Regions from separate parts of the Homo sapiens genome. Here regions 2, 3, 4, 5, 6 and 7 are each linked to region 1. The links are contacts of gene promoters, found by promoter capture Hi-C in blood cells and fetal thymus (Javierre and others, 2016). All regions are on one chromosome and are shown on one strand. The core of a region is centred on a gene start or on the middle of the fragment in contact, and the rest is flanking DNA. Distances in the headings are between cores, read along the strand shown. Region 1 holds the start of FAM210A (family with sequence similarity 210 member A). Region 2 overlaps SEH1L (SEH1 like nucleoporin). Region 3 overlaps CEP192 (centrosomal protein 192). Region 4 overlaps CEP192 (centrosomal protein 192). Region 5 has its middle 75 kb from the start of LDLRAD4. Region 6 has its middle 26 kb from the start of LDLRAD4. Region 7 overlaps LOC124904255 (a long non-coding RNA gene).

What was found. The method cuts DNA at HindIII sites, captures the fragments that hold promoters and counts their contacts. A CHiCAGO score of 5 or more calls a contact.
Region 2: a fragment that was not itself captured here is called in contact with the fragment with the promoter of FAM210A in region 1 in 2 of 17 cell types (naive B cells and total CD4 T cells); the score reaches 5.7 in naive B cells.
Region 3: a contact is called between a fragment that was not itself captured here and the fragment with the promoter of FAM210A in region 1, in 2 of 17 cell types (total CD4 T cells and naive B cells). The highest score is 5.4, in total CD4 T cells.
Region 4: a contact is called between a fragment that was not itself captured here and the fragment with the promoter of FAM210A in region 1, in 2 of 17 cell types (M0 macrophages and monocytes). The highest score is 6.0, in M0 macrophages.
Region 5: a contact is called between a fragment that was not itself captured here and the fragment with the promoter of FAM210A in region 1, in 4 of 17 cell types (monocytes, naive CD8 T cells, non-activated CD4 T cells and 1 more). The highest score is 7.7, in monocytes.
Region 6: a contact is called between a fragment that was not itself captured here and the fragment with the promoter of FAM210A in region 1, in 1 of 17 cell types (non-activated CD4 T cells). The highest score is 5.1, in non-activated CD4 T cells.
Region 7: a contact is called between a fragment that was not itself captured here and the fragment with the promoter of FAM210A in region 1, in 12 of 17 cell types (naive CD4 T cells, non-activated CD4 T cells, total CD4 T cells and 9 more). The highest score is 16.8, in naive CD4 T cells.

What each region holds. Positions count from the first base shown.
Region 1 is chr18:13,724,885-13,728,113 of GRCh38, forward strand. FAM210A (family with sequence similarity 210 member A) reads right to left here and starts at 1,674. Exons shown (of 4, transcript NM_152352.4): 1 at 1,445-1,674. It overlaps RNMT (RNA guanine-7 methyltransferase), which reads left to right and starts at 1,789. Exons shown (of 12, transcript NM_003799.3): 1 at 1,789-1,845. RefSeq lists an enhancer at 852-1,777. The HindIII fragment of the contact is 3,253 bases long and covers 1,668-3,229 here.
Region 2 is chr18:12,977,374-12,980,602 of GRCh38, forward strand. SEH1L (SEH1 like nucleoporin) reads left to right here. Exons shown (of 9, transcript NM_001013437.2): 6 at 1,379-1,519. Among named protein-coding and RNA genes, the nearest start is that of CEP192, 12 kb to the right of the region's middle. The HindIII fragment of the contact is 8,388 bases long and covers 1-3,229 here.
Region 3 is chr18:13,032,694-13,035,922 of GRCh38, forward strand. The region is part of intron 11 of CEP192 (centrosomal protein 192); the gene reads left to right. Among named protein-coding and RNA genes, the nearest start is that of CEP192, 43 kb to the left of the region's middle. The HindIII fragment of the contact is 5,250 bases long and covers 1-3,229 here.
Region 4 is chr18:13,120,784-13,124,012 of GRCh38, forward strand. All of the region lies in intron 44 of CEP192 (centrosomal protein 192), which reads left to right. Among named protein-coding and RNA genes, the nearest start is that of LDLRAD4, 96 kb to the right of the region's middle. The HindIII fragment of the contact is 4,916 bases long and covers 1-3,229 here.
Region 5 is chr18:13,142,636-13,145,864 of GRCh38, forward strand. No RefSeq gene overlaps it. Among named protein-coding and RNA genes, the nearest start is that of LDLRAD4, 75 kb to the right of the region's middle. The HindIII fragment of the contact is 1,435 bases long and covers 1,036-2,470 here.
Region 6 is chr18:13,190,899-13,194,127 of GRCh38, forward strand. No RefSeq gene overlaps it. Among named protein-coding and RNA genes, the nearest start is that of LDLRAD4, 26 kb to the right of the region's middle. The HindIII fragment of the contact is 6,980 bases long and covers 1-3,229 here.
Region 7 is chr18:13,209,331-13,212,559 of GRCh38, forward strand. The region is part of intron 1 of LOC124904255 (a long non-coding RNA gene); the gene reads right to left. Among named protein-coding and RNA genes, the nearest start is that of LDLRAD4, 7.8 kb to the right of the region's middle. The HindIII fragment of the contact is 7,533 bases long and covers 1-3,229 here.

The sequences.
Region 1 (3,229 bases), core at 424-2,923:
TGCCTCAGCCTCCTGAGTAGCTGGGATTACAGGCACGCGCCACCACGCCTGGCTAATTTTTGTATTTTTAGTAGAGACGGGGTTTCACCATGTTGGCCAGGCTGGTCTCAAACTCCTGACCTCGTGATCCAACCGCCTCGGCCTCCCAACGGCTGGGATTACAGAAGTGAGCCACTGCACCCGGTGTTTAAAAACATTAAAACATGTTTTTAAAAGTCAAAATTACACTCATTTTCTGTAAAATTACAACAGCAATTATCTCAAGAAACTTAAGCATCAGGAACAGGGAATGTAATTGCCTGGTTCTAATGCTTGTATATGCCTATAATGCATTCGATCTGTAAGACCTACACTTTTGCAGTTGTCAATATTCATGTAATGAGATTAATTCTCAACTTACCTCATTTCATATAATAACAAATACAAGCAGTCATCAGAAATTGATGGGTCATCCTTATTTGTGAAAAATAGGCCTCATTCTTGGTTCAAAGTTTGTAACCTCAAATGGGCTAATGCCCACAATTTAGAAGTGATTAGATTGGAAAGCACAACGCTGCAAATGCTGCCTTCCCCAAAGCCAGGTCTATTCATTAATATACCTGTGCCTACTGACAAGAAGGAAGGCTGGTAAAGCACATTTTCAAAGCTGTTTTAAATGGATCAATTTTGGTAAAGAGTAATTCAAGACGGATTGTAAATCTGATCAGTTTTACAACCTTGGAAGGTGGGGACTTGACGCACGACGTTAATATGCACACGCTTCAATAATCTATCCACAGGTAGTTTTGACCCTGATCTCAGGTTGAAAGTCCTCAACTATGGAGCTTTCGAGTTTCAGTACAGTAGGCGCTTTCACTCCCCAGTAGAAATCTGGGGTGATGGCCAAAAAAAGTGTGTTGTCTCCCCCAAACCACACCATGCCAAGTTCAGCCAACGCAGACTAATGCATCCTTAGGTATTTGTCAAGAAGAGGTATAGGCGGTCCCTTTTCTCAGAATCTAACAGGTAAGAATGGCCTCTTGTGGCTTCCCAAACACGGCGGTAAGGACCAGTCTGCCAGTCCCTAATAAGAAATTGCTAATTTTAAAAACCATTCCGAACGCGGGCGCTTCCGGGCCCCTCTTCAACTGGCTTCGGAAGAAGGGGGGAGAACACGGTGAAGGGTTACAGCAAAGGAGGCTGAAAAACAGTCCCAAAGCAAGATTTGCCAGGACACTGGCTCGACCCGGAAGGGCGGGGGGACCTCTCTCGGCCGCCGGGGTCTGTGGGGTCGGCGAGTGTGGACGACCCGTCTGGCAGTCGTACACTGCCACAGCCCGAAGAGCGGCGCACGCGGAGCAGTTGCCGGGTTCGCGCCGCGAGTCAGCTCCCGGACACACGCCCAGGGTTGAAGGTGCCCTCTAGACCCCTCCCGCTGCCCCACAGAGGCCTGGGCCCATGCTACCTCTTAGGACGCTGGAGCCGCCGCCGCCGCTTCCCGCCGCGCAGGCTGGACCACAGCTCCTCGGATGCCACGGCGGTGTCACTCAGCAGAGCAGCCCGACAAAGCGTGGGTCCGCGTGCAGGAACCCGCCGGGCTCAGCCGGACGCTAGCCCCCTGCCGCCCCCGGCCCCGCCAGCCGCGCCCACTAGCAACGTGCTCGCGACCTCCAGTGCCCGCTCAGTGAAGCTTCTGCATGCCGCGCGCGGCACGTCGGGACTCGTAGTTCCGGCGCGGAGGACGTGCGTCGCGGCACTCTCGCCTGACCGTCTCCACGTGACTCTCGCACCTCCGGAAGTGACGTAAGCAGACACGCGTGGCGCGGGCCGCCGTTTCCGCAAACAGAATCGCGTTTGGCTGTGCTGGTGAGTGTGACGGCTGGAACTCCGGCCCTTCCTTTCTTTGTGTTTGTCCCTCGGCCGCCGTGGAGGGGTGGAACTGGCACTCCCACCCCTGACATGGGCTCACTTCGCATTAGCCCTGTGCTTCACTACCCAACGCGTGGGTCTATTGCCTTGTGTCCTCAGTCCCAAGGAAAATGGGAACTCCTTGGGGTGGGCGGGCGCTGTTCCTCCTCCAGACTGGGCGAGCCCGGGTGGGAGAAGCAGCTCGAAGAGCTGCTCCAGCTCGCGCCCCAGGGCCGTGCTGGGGAGGGGCGTGGGGTCCGCAGGTTTGTCTTCAGCGGCGCTTCGGAAACCTGAACCAGAGGTTGAGTAACAGGCCGCGCTAATGACGGAGGGGGTGAACTTGGCTGGAGAAGTCCCTTCTCGCCTCTGTGCGTCCTCTCGGGCCCCGTGGTAGAGGGTCAAGCGGGCGGGTCGGGACTTAGAGCTTATCCCGCTTGGGCTTTATCCCGGCGGCCCTGGCGGCCTGCTCGCTCGTACCCTGAGGAGCTGAAATGACGCAGAGACATAGCTTGCTTCGGAGGTGTGACTGGAAAGCCGGGTCGAAATGTTCGTGTGGTTATTTATCGCGTGTCCATCTCCATGTCAGTCGACCACCTTTCGAAGGTTTCTTGAAGATTCTGAGGGACAGCTCTCTTCCCTATGGAGTGTTTTCATTATTCCACTTTGAGTTTGGTTTGGGTTTTTTTTCCCCCAATTTGTTAAATTGATACATAGAAGTTGCACATATTTGCAGGTGCAGGTGATACTTTGATACATGCATACAATGTGTAACGACTAAATCAGGGCAATTGGGATATTTGTCATCTCAAACATTTATCTTTATGTTGGGAACATTCCAATTTTTCTTTTAGCTATTTTGAACTACACAATAAGTTATTGTTAACTGTGTCCACCCCACTGTACTATCAGGCACTAGATTTTATTTCTTCTGGGGTTTTTTGTACCCATTAACCAATTTCTCTTCTTCATCCCGCTCCTCTTCCTGCTACCCTTCCCAGTCTGTGGTAACCACCAATCCACTCTTTACCTCCATCAGGTCCACATTTTTAGCTCCCACATGAGTAACAACATGATATTGTCTTCATGTGCCTGGCTTATTTCAGTTAACATAATGACATCCGGTTTCATCCATGTTGTTGCAAATGACAGGATTTCATTCTTTTTAATGACTAATATTCCATTGTGTATATATGCTACATTATCTTTATTCATCTGTTGATGAACGCTTAGGTTGATTCCATATCTTGACTATTGTGAATAAACTTGAGACTGCAGATATTTCTTAGATATACTGATTTCCCTTCTTTTGGATCTGTACCCAGATTTGCAAAACTGTTCATCG
Region 2 (3,229 bases), core at 532-3,031, 750 kb before region 1:
AAGAAATAGAATTGCAAGGATGAAATAGCCTTTGCATAGTTTCCTTTTATTATCACTTAACTCAATTCCTGCTGGGCGCAGTGGCTCACACCTGTAATCCTAGCACTTTGGGAGGCAGAGGCGGGTGGATCACCTGAGGTCAGGAGTTCAAGACCAGCCTGACCAACATGGTGAAACCCTGTCTCTACTAAAAATACAAAATTAGCCAGGCGTAGTGGTGCACGCTTGTAATCCCAGCTACTCAGGAGGCTGAAGCACGAGAATCACTTGAACTCAGGAGGCGGAGGTTTCAGTGAGCCAAGATTGCGCCATTGCACTCCAGCACAAGAGTGAAACTGTCTCAAAAAAACCTCAATTCCTGTTACCAGCTTTACTTTTTTATTTACATTCAAATACTTAGGCAATGTGTTACTCTTTTCCTAAGAAAGATGTTAGTGGCTAATAAATCAAGCCCTTTTTTATTTTTTATTTTTGCAGTTGAGTCTTACTGTGTTGCCCAGGCTGGAGTGCAGTGGCGTAATCTCAGCTCACTGCAACCTCCGCCTCCTGGGCTCAAGCCATCCTCCCACCTCAGCCTCCTGAGTAGCTGGGACAATGGGTGTGCACCACCATGCCCAGCTATTTCTGTATTTTTTGTAAAGATGGGGTCTTGCTGTGTTGCGCAGGCTGGTCTTGAACTACTGGGTTCAAGCAATTCTCCCACCTCAGCCTCTCAAAATGCTGGGATTACAGGTGTGAGCCACTGTGGCCAGCCAAGACCTTATTGTAATTAAATTTTTATTAAAGCGTTTCGAGCTAAATGTACATTATTAAAGGAGGAAACGTGGGAGGTTGTATTAATTTCCTAGGGCTGCCATAACAAATTACCACAAATCAGGTGGCTTAACACAGAAATGTATTCACTCACAGTTCTGGAGGTCGGAAGTCTGAAATCAAGGTGTTGGGGCTGTGCTTCCTCTAGAATCCTTCCTGGTCTAGTCCAGCTCCTGCTGGCTCCGGGAGTTCTTTGGCTTGTGGCAGCATAACTCCAATCTCTGCCTCTGTGTTCACATGGCTGCCTCCTCTCTGTCTCTGCGTTTCTTCTCTTCTTTTTAAAGAATACTTACTGCACGTTGGATTTAGGACCCACCCTAAATCTCGGATGTCATTCTGAGGTCCTTAATTACATTTTCAAAGACGCTATTTTTGAATAAGGTCACATTCACAGGGTCTGGGGGTCAGGACTTGGACATATTCTTTTGGGGGCTGCTGTTGAGCCCACTACAGAGGTGAGCACTACATGATTGTGAGCAGTGTGAAAAAAAGGTGAGATGCAGTGATGTGTGGATTTTTGCACATTTTATTTCTAAAATGTTAATGTCAATTGTTTTTCCATTAGGAAATATGCAAAAGCTGAAACTCTTATGACAGTCACTGATCCTGTTCATGATATTGCATTCGCTCCAAATTTGGGAAGATCTTTCCATATTCTAGCAATAGCGACCAAAGATGTGAGAATTTTTACATTAAAGCCTGTGAGGTGAGTTTTAGAAGCATTTATGAATTTGAAAATACTCTTGCCTTCTGATTACCTTTGTTTGTGGAGGAGAGAGTAGAGGTAACTATGATTTGGTTTATATTTCTGCTCTGGAAGTTTTACTTAAAAATGTAAACTTTGAAATGTTTTTTAAAAATGGTCTTTTACAGTTACTTTTTTTTCTTTCTTTTTTTTTTTATTGATCATTCTTGGGTGTTTCTCCCAGAGGGGGATTTGGCAGGGTCATAGGACAATAGTGGAGGGAAGGTCAGCAGATAAACAAGTGAACAAAGGTCTCTGGTTTTCCTAGGCAGAGGACCCTGCGGCCTTCTGCAGTGTTTGTGTCCCTGGGTACTTGAGATTAGGGAGTGGCGATGACTCTTAACGAGCATGCTGCCTTCAAGCATCTGTTTAACAAAGCACATCTTGCACCACCCTTAATCCATTCAACCCTGAGTGGACACAGCACATGTTTCAGAGAGCACAGGGTTGGGGGTAAGGTCACAGATCAACAGGATCCCAAGGCAGAAGAATTTTTCTTAGTATAGAACAAAATGAAAAGTCTCCCATGTCTACTTCTTTCTACACAGACACGGCAACCATCCGATTTCTCAATCTTTTCCCCACCTTTCCCCGCTTTCTATTCCACAAAACCACCATTGTCATCATGGCCTGTTCTCAATGAGCTGTTGAGTACACCTCCCAGACGGGGTGGTGGCTGGGCAGAGGGGCTCCTCACTTCCCAGTAGGGGCGGCCGGGCAGAGGCGCCCCTCACCTCCCGGACGGGGTGGCTGGCTGGGCGGGGGGCTGACCCCCCCACCTCCCTCCCGGACGGGGCGGCTGGCCGGGCGGGGGGCTGACCCCCCCACCTCCCTCCCGGACGGGGCGGCTGTCCGGGCAGAGGGGCTCCTCACTTCCCAGTAGGGGCGGCCGGGCAGAGGCACCCCTCACCTCCCGAATGGGGCGGCTGGCCGGGCGGGGGGCTGACCCCCCCACCTCCTTCGCGGACGGGGCGGCTGGCCGGGCAGAGGGGCTCCTCACTTCCCAGTAGGGGCGGCCGGGCAGAGGTGCCCCTCACCTCCCGGACGGGGCGGCTGGCCGGGCGCGGGGCTGACCCCCCCACCTCCCTCCCGGACGGGCGGCTGACCCCCCCACCTCCCTCCTGGACGGGGCGGCTGGCCGGGCGGGGGGCTGACCCCCCCCCACCTCCCTCCCGGACAGGGCGGCTGTCCGGGCAGAGGGGCTCCTCACTTCCCAGTAGGGGCGGCCGGGCAGAGGCACCCCTCACCTCCCGGATGGGGCGGCTGGCCGGGCGGGGGGCTGACCCCCCCACCTCCCTCCCGGACGGGGCGGCTGGCCCCCCCACCTCCCTCCCGGTCGGGGCGGCTGGCCGGGCAGAGGGGCTCCTCACTTCCCAGTAGGGGCGGCCGGGCAGAGGCGCCCCTCACCTCCCGGACAGGGCGGCTGGCAGGGCGGGGGGCTGACCCCCCCACCTCCCTCCCGGACGGGGCGGCTGGCCGGGCGGGGGGCTGACCCCCCAACCTCCCTCCCGGACGGGGCGGCTGGCCGGGCGGGGGGCTGATCCCCCAACCTCCCTCCCGGACGGGGCGGCTGGCCGGGCGGGGGGCTGACCCCCCCACCTCCCTCCCGGACGGGGCGGCTGGCCGGGCGGGGGGCTGACCCCCCCACCTCCCTCCCGGACGGGGCAGCTG
Region 3 (3,229 bases), core at 294-2,793, 690 kb before region 1:
AATGTTTATAGCAGCACTAGTTGTATCAGCCCCAAATTCTCAAATTCCCATTAGCAGTGGAAGTTTCCAAGTCACTGCAGAATCACCCTCCCCTCCCTCAGCCATAGAATGGATTATGTTTATTCATACCCTGGAATATTAGGTTGCAATGAGAATGAGTGATGTGAAGTTACATGCAACAACATGGATGAATCTCAGGAACATGTGGAATGACGTAAAGCTGACTAAGAACACACACTCTATAGTTCTATTTGTATACAGCTGGGCAATGCACTCCTGCAGAGCCAGCCACAGGGCAGTGGCTACATGTGGATGGGCAGGTAGCATGGGAAGCAGGCTCGGGTGGTTTGGGTACTGGCAGTATTATGCTTCTTAATCTGTGCTGTTGGCTATGCAGATGTGTTCAGATTGTGAAAATTCCTTGAGCTGTACACTTCACCTCTCTATCGTAAAAAGTTTTTAAAAATTAGCAAACTGAGAATAAAAGATTTGCAATTCATATTACAGGTTTAAAGCCCATTCCCCTAATATATAAACAGTTCCAATAAACAATAAGAAAAAGACCAACTACCCCAAAATTGGAAACAATTTATAGAAAAAGAAATAAAAACGATCGTTAAATGTACAACAAAAAATGTTCATTTTTAATCATGGAAAGAAATGCAGTGTAAATCCACCCAGTCATAGTATTTTTCAGTTATTTCCTTGGTAGTGATCCAAAAGTTTGGTGATAAAACTGTCTTAGCAAAGATGTGAGGGACACAGGTATGCTAGTCCATTCTTGGCACCGCGTCTACCTATAATGACATTGCAGCATCTAGCAAAGTTACGCATGTACTATCCTGTAACCGAGCAGTTCTGCTTCTGGGAATTTATTCTTCAGATACACTTGCATAAATGATACATGGTGTATGTGCAGGCTCATTACTTGCAGCATTGTCTGTGATAACAACGTTAGAAGCAATGTAGATGGACAAAATAGGGTATAAATTAAGGTGCATCCATACAAGGAGGTACCCTGTGGCTATACAGAATGGTAAAGGAGCTCTTTAGTTACTCAAATGGAATGATCACTGGAATAAATTAAAGATAAAGTCCACCTCAAAGCACATAAAGTATTCTAACATTTGTGTAGAAAGGTAGGAGAGGGGAGGATGTACATACAGATATTTGTAAATACATACAATGGAAAGATAAAACAAGATACTGACTACAGGAATGTCTAGTTACTTGAACTCAGAAATCAAAAATTCAGATAGACATTTCAGAAATATTTTAGCTGTTGGTTGCTTCTGGGGGTGTGGGAAACTAGGGTCAGGGATGGGGAGATAGTTTTCAGTATATACCCTTGTAAGTCTTTGGTTAACTTTGAAAAGCTCTTTATTGTGGTGTCATAAATACACCTTTTAAATTTGAATTATTAGATGTATTACTATTAAAAAATAAAAAATGATAACGGAAAGATTGAATGAAACCATCCTTGTGCTTAGGGAATGAATACTAGTCTGGTTGGAAAGGATGACTAGCATGGGTGGGGAGGAAAGGGAAACGGGGAGATGGAAAGCTATTAAAAAGGTTGGTGGACAGAAAACCTGATGGGTGCTGGGAAGGATGGACTAGATCCAGGGAAATAGGGGTGGAGGTAGCATTAATGAAATGGGAGCCTTTTTACTGAAAAGGAGAAAGGAACTTTAAAAATGTAATAAAAGGAGATATTCAGAAAAGGAAGGTTGGAAAAAAGGGTGTAATCTTGTAACGTCCAAGTCATTTTAAATGAAAATTTGCCTACTTATAAACTTTATTCAGAACAGTTCCTTAAGAGAGCCTGCCTCGGCCGGGCGCAGTGGCTTACGCCTGTAATCCCAGCACTTTGGGAGGCCAAGGTGGGTGGATCACCAGGTCAGGAGATCGAGACCATCCTGGCTAACATGGTGAAACCCTGTCTCTACTAAAAAAAAAAAAAATACAAAAAATTAGCTGGGTGTGGTGGTGGGCACCTGTAGTCCCAGCTACTCAGGAGGGGGCTGAGGCAGGAGAATGGCGTGAACCCAGAAGGCAGAGCTTGCAGTGAGCCGAGATTGCACCACTGCCCTCCAGACTAGGCGACAGAGCAAAACTCTGTCTCATAAAAAAAAAAAAAAAAAAGCCTGCCTCCTCTTCTTCCCCATGCCTGCCTTCCTCCTTGCCGACAGCTCAGCTCCATCTATTCAAGGTGCTGCATTGCTGCCGCTTATGACCTGAGAGTTCGACAGTGGGGGAAACACAAATGGGCTGCTTCCACGTTTGGCCTCGGAAGCATTCAGTACAAGAGGATTGTTGTTTTAGGTATGCCAAAGAATTGGCATAGATTCTCATAAAAAGTGAAGTTCTGCTTTCTTATTGGCTGTGATTGATTTCTGATGAGTAGACAAGATAACAGTGTTAATATAGATGTTTCTTTGATGAATCCCTTATAGTTCAGAGAAAAAGCATTTAGGAATATAATAAATCCTATTTTGAGCTGTTCGGTCAATTATTTAAAAACCAGGTGATATTTAACTCCTCAAAGTAAATTAAGTTTCTTTTGGGTTACCTTCTGTATTAGTTTGTTTTTATGCTGCTGATAAAGACATACCCGAAACTGGGAACAAAAAGAGGTTTGCTTGGACTTACAGTTCCACGTGGCTAGGGAAGCCTCAGAATCATGGTGGGAGGCAAAAGGCACCTCTTACATGGCGGCAGCAAGAGAAAAAATGAGGAAGAAGCAAAAGTGGAAACCTCTGATAAACCCATCAGATCTCGTGAGACTTATTCACTATCATGAGAATAGCATGGGAAAGACCGGCCTCCATGTTTCAGTTATCTCCCCCTGGGTCCCTCCCACAACATTTGAGAATTCTGGGAGATAACAATTCAAGTTGAGATTTGGGTGGAGACACAGCCAAACCATATTACCCTCTTTTGGGCCGAGTTTCCTACTTCCCTTCTCTTGGCTGTCAGATTTGGTTGGTTGCTCCTTTCATCTTTTAGGGCAGTGGTTTTTAACTTAGCTTGAGTCATAGATTCCACAATGAATCTTCATAGAAATATATGGAATGTATGATTTTGCATGTAATTTTGAGGGCTTCATGGTTCTCCTGATGCTCATTCCTAGGTTCTGTGCTGTAGGTTAAGAATGTGTTTTTTCTTAGGCTGGGCATTTTGGCTTATGCCTGTAATCCTAGCCGTTTGGGAAGCCAAGGTGAGTGAA
Region 4 (3,229 bases), core at 201-2,700, 600 kb before region 1:
GCAATAGCTTTAATAGCAGCAGTTCATTGTAAATTTGGTAAAGTATGAGTAAGAAAATCATGTGTATAAAGCACTAATTCTGTGATCTGTTTAACTAAATGAACTAAACTCTGGGTTATAGGAAACTTTATTTTACGCAAAGAAAGGTGGAAACACTGGCTCCTTTGTAACAGAGAATGACCTGTGTTGACCTTGGAGAAGCAGCAGGACAGTAGAGGCAGATACCACAGGAACCCCAGTGACAGTTCTTACCACAGAACTGAAGTCATGGGGACTTACGGCATTGTGTGCTATTGTATTTGTCCCAGACACGAGACACTGTGACTTTAGACAAAGGTTCACAATACATAATTGCCAGATGAGAGCAGCAGTTAGCTTGCCTTGGCAGTGCAACAAAATCTGTGTTCTTAAAGCCCTGAGAAGCAATTCCCAGCCTTTAGTTAATCACATTTTTCATTTGTTAGATCACTGTGTGCTCTATGACACCATTAACTACACATTTCCAAAGCAATAATAGGATTGTAGTCATCTGTAGGGTACAGGAGATGATTACTTACAAATATGCACTTTTTCCAAGGCCACCGGAAGGCCTGGTGGGGCTGCTCTCCGAAAGCTCCAGCACTAGCACAGGAAAGTGGCTGCTCCTTACAGGCTGTAAGCTGATTCTAGCTTAAGGAGGCAGAAGAGTTCCCCCAAGAAGGTACAGGGGTTTTGCTCAGTGCAGAGGTGGGTGAACACGAATGTATGATAGATTATAAGTAAGGTTATAGGGAAAAGGAAACATTACTAACAGGTTTTCTTGTAAAGGTTCTTTTTTGAGGGTTCTGAGAGATCATCTCTTTCTTATATCTTTTTTAAAAGAATTTATGTTTCTACTTAGTCCCCAAAAGCATCTTTCTCTTAACCTATTATTTTATGACCATCTAACCCCAGCTGAGGTGTTGTAGCTAATAGGTTCCACCTCAACTGTGCCCTCATGTCCTTGCACAGTGCAAGGTGCACAATCCTGGCAGACCCTGCATGTCATTTGGGAGAGAAGGACAGTTCCTAGAAAAGTGACAAGCCAAGGAATAGAGTTATCATTGAGCTGCAGTGACTTCTCACCCATGTGTGGGAACAAATTTTATTACCTTTTTCAGTTTCTTTGATAATGGTGGTACCTTGTATGTGCTAGTGTACTGGCTTTTTTTCTGTGGAAACTGTTCCTTTAAAAAAATGTTTTGGGCCGGGCATGGTGGCCCATGCCTGTGATCCCAACATTTTGGGAGGCCAAGACGGGCGGGTCATCTGAGGTCAGGAGTTCAAGATCAGCCTGGCCAACATGTGAAACCCTGTCTCTACTAAAAATGCAAAAAGCAGGCCAGGCGCGGTGGCTCATGCCTGTAATCCCAGCACTTTGGGAGGCGGAGGCGGGTGAATCACGAGGTCAAGAGATCAAGACCATCCTGGCCAACATGGTGAAACCCCGTCTCTACTAAAAATACAAAAATTAGCTGGGCAAGGTGGCGCATGTCTGTAATCCTAGCTACTCAGGAGGCTGAGGCAGAAGAATCGCTTGAACTTGGGAGGCACAGGTTGCAGTGAGCCGAGATCGTGCCACTGCACTCCAGCCTGGCAAAAGAGCGAGACACCGTCTCAAAAAAACAAAGTAGCCGGGCCTGGTGGCATATGCCTGTAGTCCCAGCTACTCAGGAGGTTGAGGCAGGAGAATGGCTTGAACCAGGGAAACAGAGGTTGCAGTGAGCTGAGATCGTGCCACTGCACTCCAGCTTGGGCGACAGAGCGAGAATCCGTCTGAAAAAAAAAAATGTTTTGAAAGGAAGGAAGGAAGTGTGGTTGCTAGAATTTGTAGGTTCCACTAAGCCCTTTCCATGTAGATGGGGCCTGCAGGGAGTTGGGGGCTGAGTGTGCACAGCCTGATGGCCTCTCTGCTCCCTAGATGCATTTCTGCTCTGCGTGCCTTTGCAATTACATCTATCATTAGCTAGAGAGAGGATCTGAACTAGACCTCCCCACTGGGTTCAGAGGACTTTCCTGCTACCTTTTCCCGTGTGTGTGTGTGTGTGTGTGTGTGTGTAGAGATTAAATTAGTTCTCAATAATAGTATTACAAAGTACTTTTTAAAATATATCCATCTTGCTGGGAGTGTTCTATAGCTGTATTAAATGTTGTGGTTCTTTCTAAATTGCATTCCATTTTATTCAGTGTATCTGTAAATCTAAAGCAGATGATATATTTTTAATCACAATATACTTAAATTTTCAGGTTAATATAGAACAATTCTATATTCTGTGATGAAATTTATTAATAATGAGTTCTTCCAGAGATTTTTTTGGGGCTATTTTATTATTTTTACTAATTCATAAGTTATAAAGCCTCTTAAATAGGCAAATGGTACTATATTTATCCAAGTATTGACCACCAACATGCAAGAGAAAATTGTAGCTAATGCCATGGGCCAGGTTAGATTTTTTTTAAAAAGTACATTATCTTTGACATGGTAAAACAAATGTAATGCATTTGGGGAAAATAACCCAGACTTTAAATAAAAACATATAGAGATACACATACACACCTTTGCTCTATATAGATATATTTAAGAACATACACTATTTGTGTTATCAGTTATATCCAGGAAAAGGGCTTTGAAATACTGAAGCTGTTTTCTAAACCTCATGCCCGGTGTACTCTTGTGCACCCAAGAGCGACACTGCTGGGATTTTCAGGACAGATGCTGGAAACCGAAACGTACATCACTTCTGGTTGCCAGTCTTTAAAACACACAGCTCTGAGACGAGACTAAGGGGTGAAGTACCTTCCCTGTGAGCTCAGAACTTTCACTTAAAAACGCCTAAGCCTAGACGTTGATGACATCACATGGGCTGTGTGTAATGTGTTTGTAGCCTCATTCACACTGTGAATAACTTGTTAAATTGCATATTTTGAGGTGTATTTTGAAGCTCTTAGGACATAGTTTTAGGGACAAAAACAAACCCCCTAGAATACTGTTTTTAACCATAGGGCACTTGTTACCTGCCTCTATATACTGTAATCTGAAAGTAAAGTTTCTAGAATATTTTTGATGAAAGTTTCCGGCCGGGCATGGTGGCTCATGCCTGTAATCCTAGCACTTTGGGAAGCCAAGGCGGGTGGATCACTTTAGGCCAGGAGTTTGAGATTAGCCTGGCCGACATGGTGAAACCCCGCCTCTACTAAAAATACAAAAATT
Region 5 (3,229 bases), core at 503-3,002, 580 kb before region 1:
CAACTTAGTCACCCTGCTCAGGGAAAGGGGCTGAGGCTGTCTCTACAGCAGCCACCTCCCTCTGGAAGGAGGAAGGACCCAAGACCCACACCCGCTGTCTACCCAACCAGCCCTAACTCTTCTTGTTGGCTCAAGAGTCCCCTTTCTTCTTCACTGAGCCACAAGACACAGAGCAGTGAGTAGCATCAGAGCAGCCTGTAAGAACCTGGATGCCAGGAACGGAGTGGAACCTGGAAGTTCAGCTTCCAACAGACAAACACAGTCAGAGCTCCCTTTTTAGAGTCCCTCCTGTGTAAACACACAGGGCATACAGGCATGACTTCCAGGAGCTTCACTGCAGCATGGCATGCACAGATAACACAACAGAAGTGACCTCAGTGCTGCTTTTGGAGGACAGATGACACGCATCTTGGTTCATGCAACTCAACACCGCACACATGTAAAATAGAATGAGTAGCTTTGTGTTGTGATATAAAAATGTAAGCTATATTATTGAGTGAAAAGCCAAATTGCCCACCAGTATGCAAAGCAGATTTACTCTTATTAGAAATGGAGGCTGAGCATGGTGGCTCACGCCTGTAATCCTAGCACATCAGGAGGCCAAGGCGGGTGGATTGCTTGAGGCCAGGAGTTTGAGATCAACCTGGGCAACACGGCAAAACTCCATCTCTACAAAAAATACAAAAATTAGCCTGGCCCAGTGGTGCATGCCTGTAGTCCCAGCTACTTGGGAGGCTGGGATAGGAGTATCAATTGAATACAGGATGTGGAGGCTGCAATGAACCAGGATCACACCACTGAACTCCATCCAGTCTGGGTGACAGCAAGATCCTGCCAAAAAAAAAAAAAAAAATCTAGCAGAGGACAGAGGAGTGTATACAGATAAACAAATGCATATTGTGTTTGCATCCCCTATATTAGTTTTCTATTGTTGCATAACAAATGATTACCCAAACACCAGGGGTTTGGTCTAGGTCCTGCTGCTCACAGCACAGAAAGCCAGTCATCAAGACAACCAGTATTGGCAGGGAAGAAAGCTTTAATCGGGTGCTGCAGCTGAAGAGATGGGAATTCAGTCTCAAGTCCGTCTCTCTGACTATCTAAAATTGGGAGTTTATATAGAAGGGAAGAAATGTAACTACATGCAGGAAAACAGTAATTAGGGAAGAATGAGGAAGAGGAGTTGGTCAACAGGCAGCAGGTGGTGCTCAGGCAATCATGAGGGTTGAGGGCCTGGCCACTCATCCTCCAGAGGCTGTGAGCTTGTAAGTTTCAGCTCCTTGATACTACCTGGGAGTCCTGATGGTCGGTTTCCTGAGAAAGGAACTCAGATAAGACAAATGTAACTTTCTCAAGTTTTAAGACTGAGAGGGTCAATTTCTATGTTTATTCAAAAGAAATGATAAACATCAGTTTTATGGGACAATTGGTCAGGTTTCAAAACTACCACAAACTCAGTGGCTGAAAATAATGCCTGCCTTTTTCTCACAGTTCTGTAGGTCAGAAGCCAGCACTGCCTGGCGGATTCTCTGCTCATGGTCTCAGGAGGCTGAAATCGAGGTGTCAGTCAGCTACATTCTCATCTGCAGCTTGGAATCCTCTTCCAAACTCATTCAGTATTTGGCAGCATTCAATTTCTTCTTGGCCATCAGCCAGGAGTCCCTGTCTCCTCCTAGAGGTTTCCCAGCTTCTTCAGCAGATCACAACATAGATGCGTCCTTTCCTGGTTGGTATCTGTGGGGGATTGGTCCTGGGTTCCTGGGACCTGTGCAGATAGCAAAATCAGCAGGTTCTCCTGACCTGCAGTCGGCCCTGCAGAACCCGTGGGTAGGAAGAGGCAGCATCCACTCTCCAGATCTGCGGGTTCTGCATTCCACAAATACTGTATTTTTGGTAAGTAGTTGGTTTAATCCATGCATGTGGAACCGTGGATATGAAGAGCTGACTGGGCTTGCTTTCTTCCAGACCAGCAGAGTGCATCAAACTCCAGGCTTCAAAGGGCTCATCTGAATAGGTCAGACCCACCCTTGATGATCCCTCTTTTGCTATAAAATGTGACATGATCAAAGGAGTGACATCTGATTCTACTTACAGGTCCATCCTCAAAATCTCAAAGGACCCCAAATAGCCAAAGCAATCTTGTAGGGAAAAAAAAAACTGGAGGCCTTACACATTCTGATTTCAAAACATATTGCAAAGCTATAGTGATCAAAACAGTATGATACTGGCATAAAGACAGAATAGAGTCCAGAAATAAACCCTCACATATATTGTCAAATAATCTTTGACAAGGCTACACAGTGAGGAAAGATAATCTCCTCAACAAATGTTGTTGGGGAAACAGGATATCCACATGCAAAAGAATGAATTTGGGCTCTTACCTTATACCATATACAAAAGTTACCTCAAAATGGACAAAATCCTAAATGTAAGATCCCAAACTGTAAAACCCTGAAAGGAAAGGGGAAAAAGCTTTATGGCATTGGAATTGGCGTTGATTTCTTGACTGTCACACCAAAACAGAAAATAGACAAATGGGACTATGTCAAACTTAAAAACTTCTGTGTGACAAAGGAAACAGTCAACATGGTGAAAAGGCAACCCACAGAATGAAAGAACACATTTGCCAGTCATTTATCTGATAACACGTTAATATCCAGAATTTATAAAGAACTCCTACAACTCAACAACAACAAAAAAACAAACATGCTGATTAAAAACTAGATAAAAGACTTTAATAGACATTTCTCCAAATAAGATACACAAATTGCCCACAAACGTATGAAAAGATGTGCAACATCATCATTAATCACCAGGGAAATGCAAATCAAAACCACAGTGGGATATCATCTCATGCCCATTAGGATGATCACTATACAAAATAAAAATAAAAAAAAAAACTAAAAAAAAAAAAAGTTTTGCTGAGGATATGGAGAAATTGGAAACCTGCATTGCTGCTGGGAATAAAAATGGTGAATGTTTTAGTCCATTTTTTGTGGCTATGAAGGAATACCTGAGGTTGAGGTTGGGTAATTTATAAAGAGAAAAGGTTTATTCGATTCACAATTCTGGATGGCTGGAAAGTGCAAAGCTGGGCATCTGCATCTGGTGAGGGCCTCAGGCTGCATCTACTCATAGCAGAAGGTGAAGAGCAGTCAGCATGTGCAGAGATCACATGGTGAGAGAGGAAGCAAGAGGGCAAGGGGGGCGTGGTGCAGGTTCTAGTTAA
Region 6 (3,229 bases), core at 397-2,896, 530 kb before region 1:
ATAAAAATGAGAGAATCAGTGGCGTGTGTGTGTGTGTGCGTGTGTGCGGGTGTGTGTGTGTGTGTGTGTGTGTATGAAAGTTTATTGCAGCATTGTTGCAGTGGCAAAAAAAACCCAAATGACCTAATGTCCACCAATAGGGCTGTACAAGTTAGGATATACTACTTTATCCAAAGGAAATAAGCCAAATAGCTCAAAAAAATAAATGGCCTAAAACAGTTTTCCTTGCAAGACTGCAGAAGAGCTGCACAAATTGCCCTTGGGAGGCCAGGCGGAGGGTCTCTCCCGGGATGCATGTTCACTCTTGCCACAGCTGGAGGAAGCAGGCCCTAAGGCTTGCACTGCAAAGTGATGAGAATGAAGCCCTGGTTATGCTAGACTTCAAGGCATGCATGCTCGGAAGGGTAACAGGATATTGATGAACTGTGAAAAATCTCTGCTACAAAGGGAATGGTTGGATAAATTGTAGTTCTATCTAACTATGGAATATTATGTATTCCTAACAAAATGAGTTAGACTCATGCTGGGAAGATTGCTCGTGGTCTAGTAAGTGATTAGCAAGTGGCAGAGTGAGATGCATACAATTATCCCACTGAAAACAACAGCCAACAAACATCTGCATGTACAAGCGTTTCAATTTGTATGAACGTGTGTGGAGGGACACATATATGAACGTGTGTGGAGGGACACATTGGGTACATCAGGGAAGGGGAATTGAATGAGGGCTGGGGATATTGCGTTAACTTTAAAAATGTATATCTTTGGGTAGTCTCACTTGTTAACATGAGCATGCTTGATTTTCCTAATTTCAAAGGAAAGTTATGTAAAAAAGGTAAACATTATTAAATAAAAAAACCTTTAGTTTTTCTAGTTGAGGATCTCTTTACCCCAAGACGATTCCAAGTAATAAAAAGCAAACATTATTTCACAATGTGTCTGTGTGTATTTCTAAAGTCTGCTGGAATGATATCTGTGTCTCCCGTGCTCATTTGCAATGTGAACTTGCTGCTTTCTCATGGAGAGGTGGAGTCTATCTCTCCACCCCCTAGAATGTGGCAGGGGGTCACATTCCAGGGTGATGCTGGGCCAGTGCCAGGCGGGGCCCTTCACTGGCCTGAAGCCCGGTGCCAGGAGAAAGGAGTGCAAATATCCTGAGAAGGCTCTGCAGCGAGAAGCCCAAGGCCTGTGGGGAAGCCGCAGAGGATAAGCTGCCTTGAAGGGAGGCAGGCTGAGGAGCCCAGGGTGCCGAAAAGTGAGGGAAGAAACCATCTCACAAATAGATCCTGGCACCCTCACCCTCGCTGGTGCCATGTGCATCGAGACCAACTGCCCCGCTCAGACTTCCCAAATTCTTGACCCACAAAAATGTGCACAAATAAAGTGGTTTTTAAAAAAATAATAAAATCTCATTTTATTAATAAAATTAATAAGTTGATTAACCTAGTTATAGGGCAATTTTTTATGCAGCAAAGCACATAACAACCGCCTGGTTTCTATAAGGAAAAAAGTCTCCTCTACATTTCTTTACATAATTTGTTTTTTATATTACATGTTAACATATTTTGTCTTTTTTTTTTTTTTTTGAGACGGACTCCTTTTTCTTGGCACCCAGGCTGGAGTGCAGTGGTGCGATCTGAACTCACTGCAACCTCTGCCTCCCCAGTTCAAGTGATTCTCCTGCCTCAGCCTCCTGAGTTGCTGAGATTACAGGTGCTCACCACCATGCCTGGCAGCGGTGCGATCTCAGCTTGCTGCAATGTCTGCCTCCCCGGTTCAAGAGATTCTCTTGCCTCAGCCTCCTGAGTAGCTGAGATTACAGGTGCCCGCCACCATGCCAAGCTAATTTTTAGTAGAGATGGGATTCCACCATGTTGGCCAGGCTGGTCTTGAACTCCTGACCTCAGGTGATCCACCCGCCTCAGCCTCCCAAAGTGCCGGGATTACAGGCATGAGCCACTGTGCCTGGCCTGTCTTTTTTTTTTTTGTTTAAACCAGAGATCTTTCTCCTTTCACTTACAGGATCAAAAAAGCAAATTAAAATAGGAGGTAAAAGAAAAAGCATTAAGTTTTACGTAAAAGGTATTATAATATTGGTATTTGTTTGGGAAAAACACCTATAACCAGAGACAACAAACTTTTTTTTTTCCAAATAAGCTACATTGCCCGTTATTTTAGTAAGTAGTACACTGTAATTGTTATGTGTTTTTTATTATTCTTTTACATGTCTTAAAATTTTCCCAGCAAAGCCTTACTAGTATTGCTGAAGAGACACTTTTTCTGCTTACTTGGGGAAGTTTGCTCTCTGAATTAAAAAATAAACAAAAGAGTGAAAGCTCTGTCATCCTTTTCTCTCTTTCCTCTCCTCTGTATCCTTACCCCTCCCTCATTCTGCTTTCTTCCTGCCCTCTTCTGCTTTTCCCCACAATCCATCAGAGTACTTCTGCATGAACAACAGGATCTGACTCCAGGTCTCCCAGGAAGGAAGGGTGCTTGTAGGCACATGTGCTCAATGGCAGGGTAAGAACAAGGGCTGGAACCCAAGCAGGCGCTATGTGTTCTCTGGAGGGAGGGCACATAGCATACCGACTCCAGCTTGGGCATCCCTTTGGGTGAATTTGACTTCCGGTAATTCCCACTTCTTTAAACCACTCTCTTAAGCCCTGCAGAACATCTCAGTGGCCCAGCCTACTTACAAGTTGTCCCCTGTTGAATGGGGTAGGAGGAAAAGATCTCTAGCAGGAAGCACAAGGGAAGATGGTCCAACATGGAGATGGGGTGGCTGGTAGGAAAGGTTTGCATACTGCACACAAATGGCCACTACAAATTTAATTTCATCAAAGTTATGCTTTAAAAATGCAACAAAAATTCAAGATGAAAATACCCTAAGACACAGAAATCCCATTCTAATGCAGACACTAAGAAAAACTCTCACACCTGTGTACAAAGAGACAGGTACAAGGATGTTCATTGCAGTAACGTAAAAGACCAAAAATTGTAACACCTAAATGTCATCAACAGGATAAATGGTAAATGCATTGTGAAATATTCACATGGTAAAATACTATTGCCAGTTTAAATCAATGAACTTAAGCCACATGTGTCAACTTGAATGAATTTGGATAATGTAATGAGTGAAAAAGTCATACATACACTATGATGACGTTTATATAAAGTTTAAAAACCCACAAAACAATACATATGGTTTAGGAATATGTCATATGCAGCGTAA
Region 7 (3,229 bases), core at 283-2,782, 520 kb before region 1:
CAGCCTACTATTGATGGGTATTTAGGTTGACTCCATGTCTTTGCTATTATGAATGGTGCTGCAATGAACATACATATGTATGTGCCTTTATAATAGAATGATTTATACTCCTTTGTGTATATGTCCAGTAATGGGATTGCTGGGTTGAATGGTATTTCTGTCTTTAGGTCTTTGAGGAATCGCCACACTGTCTTCCACGATGGCTGAACTAACGTACACTCCTACCAACAGCACTTTACCCTTTTTACTTCAAGCATTTAATTTAATCATTGCCATCTAACGGACTGCCCAACAAATAATTCAAACTTTAAACGAAACATGAGGTTCTTAAGTCTTGCAGGCTGAACTGGACAGAGCAGAGAAATTCCTGAGGCAGAATCTGTGACCCAGGCCTAAAGTCTCACTATGCGTCCCCACCTTTCCAGGTGGAATGAGGTTAAAGAATGCCAAAGATCAGATGGTTGTAGATGTATGGTATTATTACCTAGGAATCCAACTTACCAAGGGATGTGAAGGACCTCTTCAAGGAGAACTACAAACCACTGCTCAATGAAATAAAAGAGGACACAAACAAATGGAAGAACATTCCATGCTCATGGATAGGAAGAATCAATACTGTGAAAATGGCCATAATGCCCAAGGTAATTTAGAGATTCAATGCCATCCCCATCAAGCTACCAATGACTTTCTTCACAGAATTGGAAAAAACTACTTTAAAGTTCATATGGAACCAAAAAAGAGCCCACATTGCCAAGACAATCCTAAGCCAAAAGAGCAAAGCTGGAAGCATCATGCTACCCGGCTTCAAATTATACTACAAGGCTATAGTAACCAAAACAGCATGGTAATGGTACCAAAACAGAGATATAGACCAATGGAACAGAATAGAGCCTTTGACAAACCTGACAAAAACAAGAAATGGGGAAAGGATTTCCTATTTAATAAATGGTGCTAGGAAAACTGGCTAGCCATATGTAGAAGGCTGAAACTGGATCCCTTCCTTACATCTTATACAAAAATTAATTCAAGATGGATTAAATACTTAAATGTTAGACCTAAAACCATAAAAACCCTAGAAGAAAACCTAGGCAATACCATTCAGGACATAGGCATGGGCAAGGACTTCATAACTAAAACACCAAAAGCAATGGCAACAAAAGGCAAAATTGACAAATGGGATCTAATTAACTAAAGAGCTTCAGCACAGCAAAAGAAACTACCATCAGAGTGAACAGGCAACCTACAGAATGGGAGAAAATTTTTACAATCTACCCATCTGACAAAGGGCTAATATGTAGAATCTACAAAGAACTTAAACAAATTTACAAGAAAGAAACAAACAACCCCATCAACAAGTGGGCAAAGGATATGAACAGACACTTCTCAAAAGAAGACACTTATGCAGCCAACAGACACATGAAAAAAATGCTCATCATCACTGGCCATCAGAGAAATGCAAATCAAAACCACAATGAGATACCATCTCACACCAGTTAGAATGGCGATCATTAAAAAGTCGGGAAACAACAGGTGCTGGAGAGGATGTGGAGAAATAGGAATGCTTTTACACTGTTGGTGGGAGTGTAAATGGTTGAACTACCATTGTGGAAGACAGTGTGGCAATTCCTCAAGGATCTAGAACTAGAAATACCATTTGACTCAGCAATCCCATTACTGGGCATATACCCAAAGGATTATAAATCATGCTGCTATAAAGACACATGCACATGTATATTTATAGCGGCACTATTCACAATAGCAAAGACTTGGAACAAACCCAAATGTCCATCAATGATAGACTGGATGAAGAAAATGTGGCACATATACACCATGGAATACTATGCAGCCATAAAAAATGATGAGTTCATGTCCTTTGTAGGGACATGAATGAAACTGGAAAGCATCATTCTGAGCAAACTATCGCAAGGACAGAAAACCAAACACTGCATGTTCTCACTCATAGGTGGGAACTGAACAATGAGAACACTTGGACACAGGGTGGGGAACATCACACACCGGGGCCTGTCGTGGGGGAGGAGGAGTGGGGAGGGATAGCATAAGGAGATATACCTAATGTAAATAATGAGTTAACTGGTGCAGCACACCAACGTGGCACATGTATACATATGTAACAAACCTGCGTTTTGTGCACATGTACCCTAGAACTTAAAGTATAATTAAAAAAAAAAAAAAAGAATGCCAAAGGCAGCTTCCAAAGGCGTGTCAAGGAATGGAGTGGAAATGAGCTGTTTAAAGCCTCAGTGCAGCGTGAGTGTCTGCAGGCAATGAGCTTCAGGCACTCCTCAGCGGCACTTCATTCAGCCCAGGGGAGTGAGCTGAGCCCTTTCCTGTGGAGGGAGGAGGCCTGCGAGGTGTCTGGGGAGTCTAATCCAGTGGGCAGACTGCCTCTCTGCTTTTCCCCGCCTGAGAGAGCTGGCTCTGCTGCTGAGTGACCCCGCCTTACAAAGTCCTCCCACATCCAAGAGTTCCCTTTTTGCAAAACCTTAAAAATGTGGTGTTATAATATAAATGTGTATGACGTTTACACACAGCTAATGAATTCACTAGCATAAAGCTAATGAATTTTTACATATGCATATACCCCTGCAACCACACTAGATGAAGACAGATCATTTCCCTCTCCCCCAAGGGCTCTCTTGCCCCTTCCCACCCACTACCATCCTGAGTGACCATGGATCTAACTTCTATCATCATCGGTTAGCTTCTCCTGTTTTGGAACATCACACAAATAAAACCATATGTTACTATTCTTTTGAGCCTGAATTCTGTCATTCAAATAAGTTTTTGTGGCATTTATCCATGTTGTGTGTGCCAGCAGTTTCATGGGTTTAAAAAAATTTTATTTTATTTTAATTTCCGGGGTCCATGTGCAGGACGTGCAGGTTTGTTACATAGGTAAATGTGTGCCATGATGGTTTGCTCCACCCATCAACCCATCACCTAGGTATTAAGCCCGGCATGCATTAGCTATTTAACCTGATGCTCTTCCCACCACCGCCACCCGCTCTCCCCTGACAGGCCCCAGTGTGTGTGTTGTTCCCCTCCCTGTGTCCATGTGTTCTCATTGTTCAGCTCCCACGTATAAGTGAGAACATGAGGTGTTTGGTTTTCTGTTCCCGTGTTAGTTTGCTGAGGATAGTGGCAAATTTACAAGAAAAAAATAAATAATCCAATTAAAAAGTGGGCAAAGGACACGAGCAGACACTTC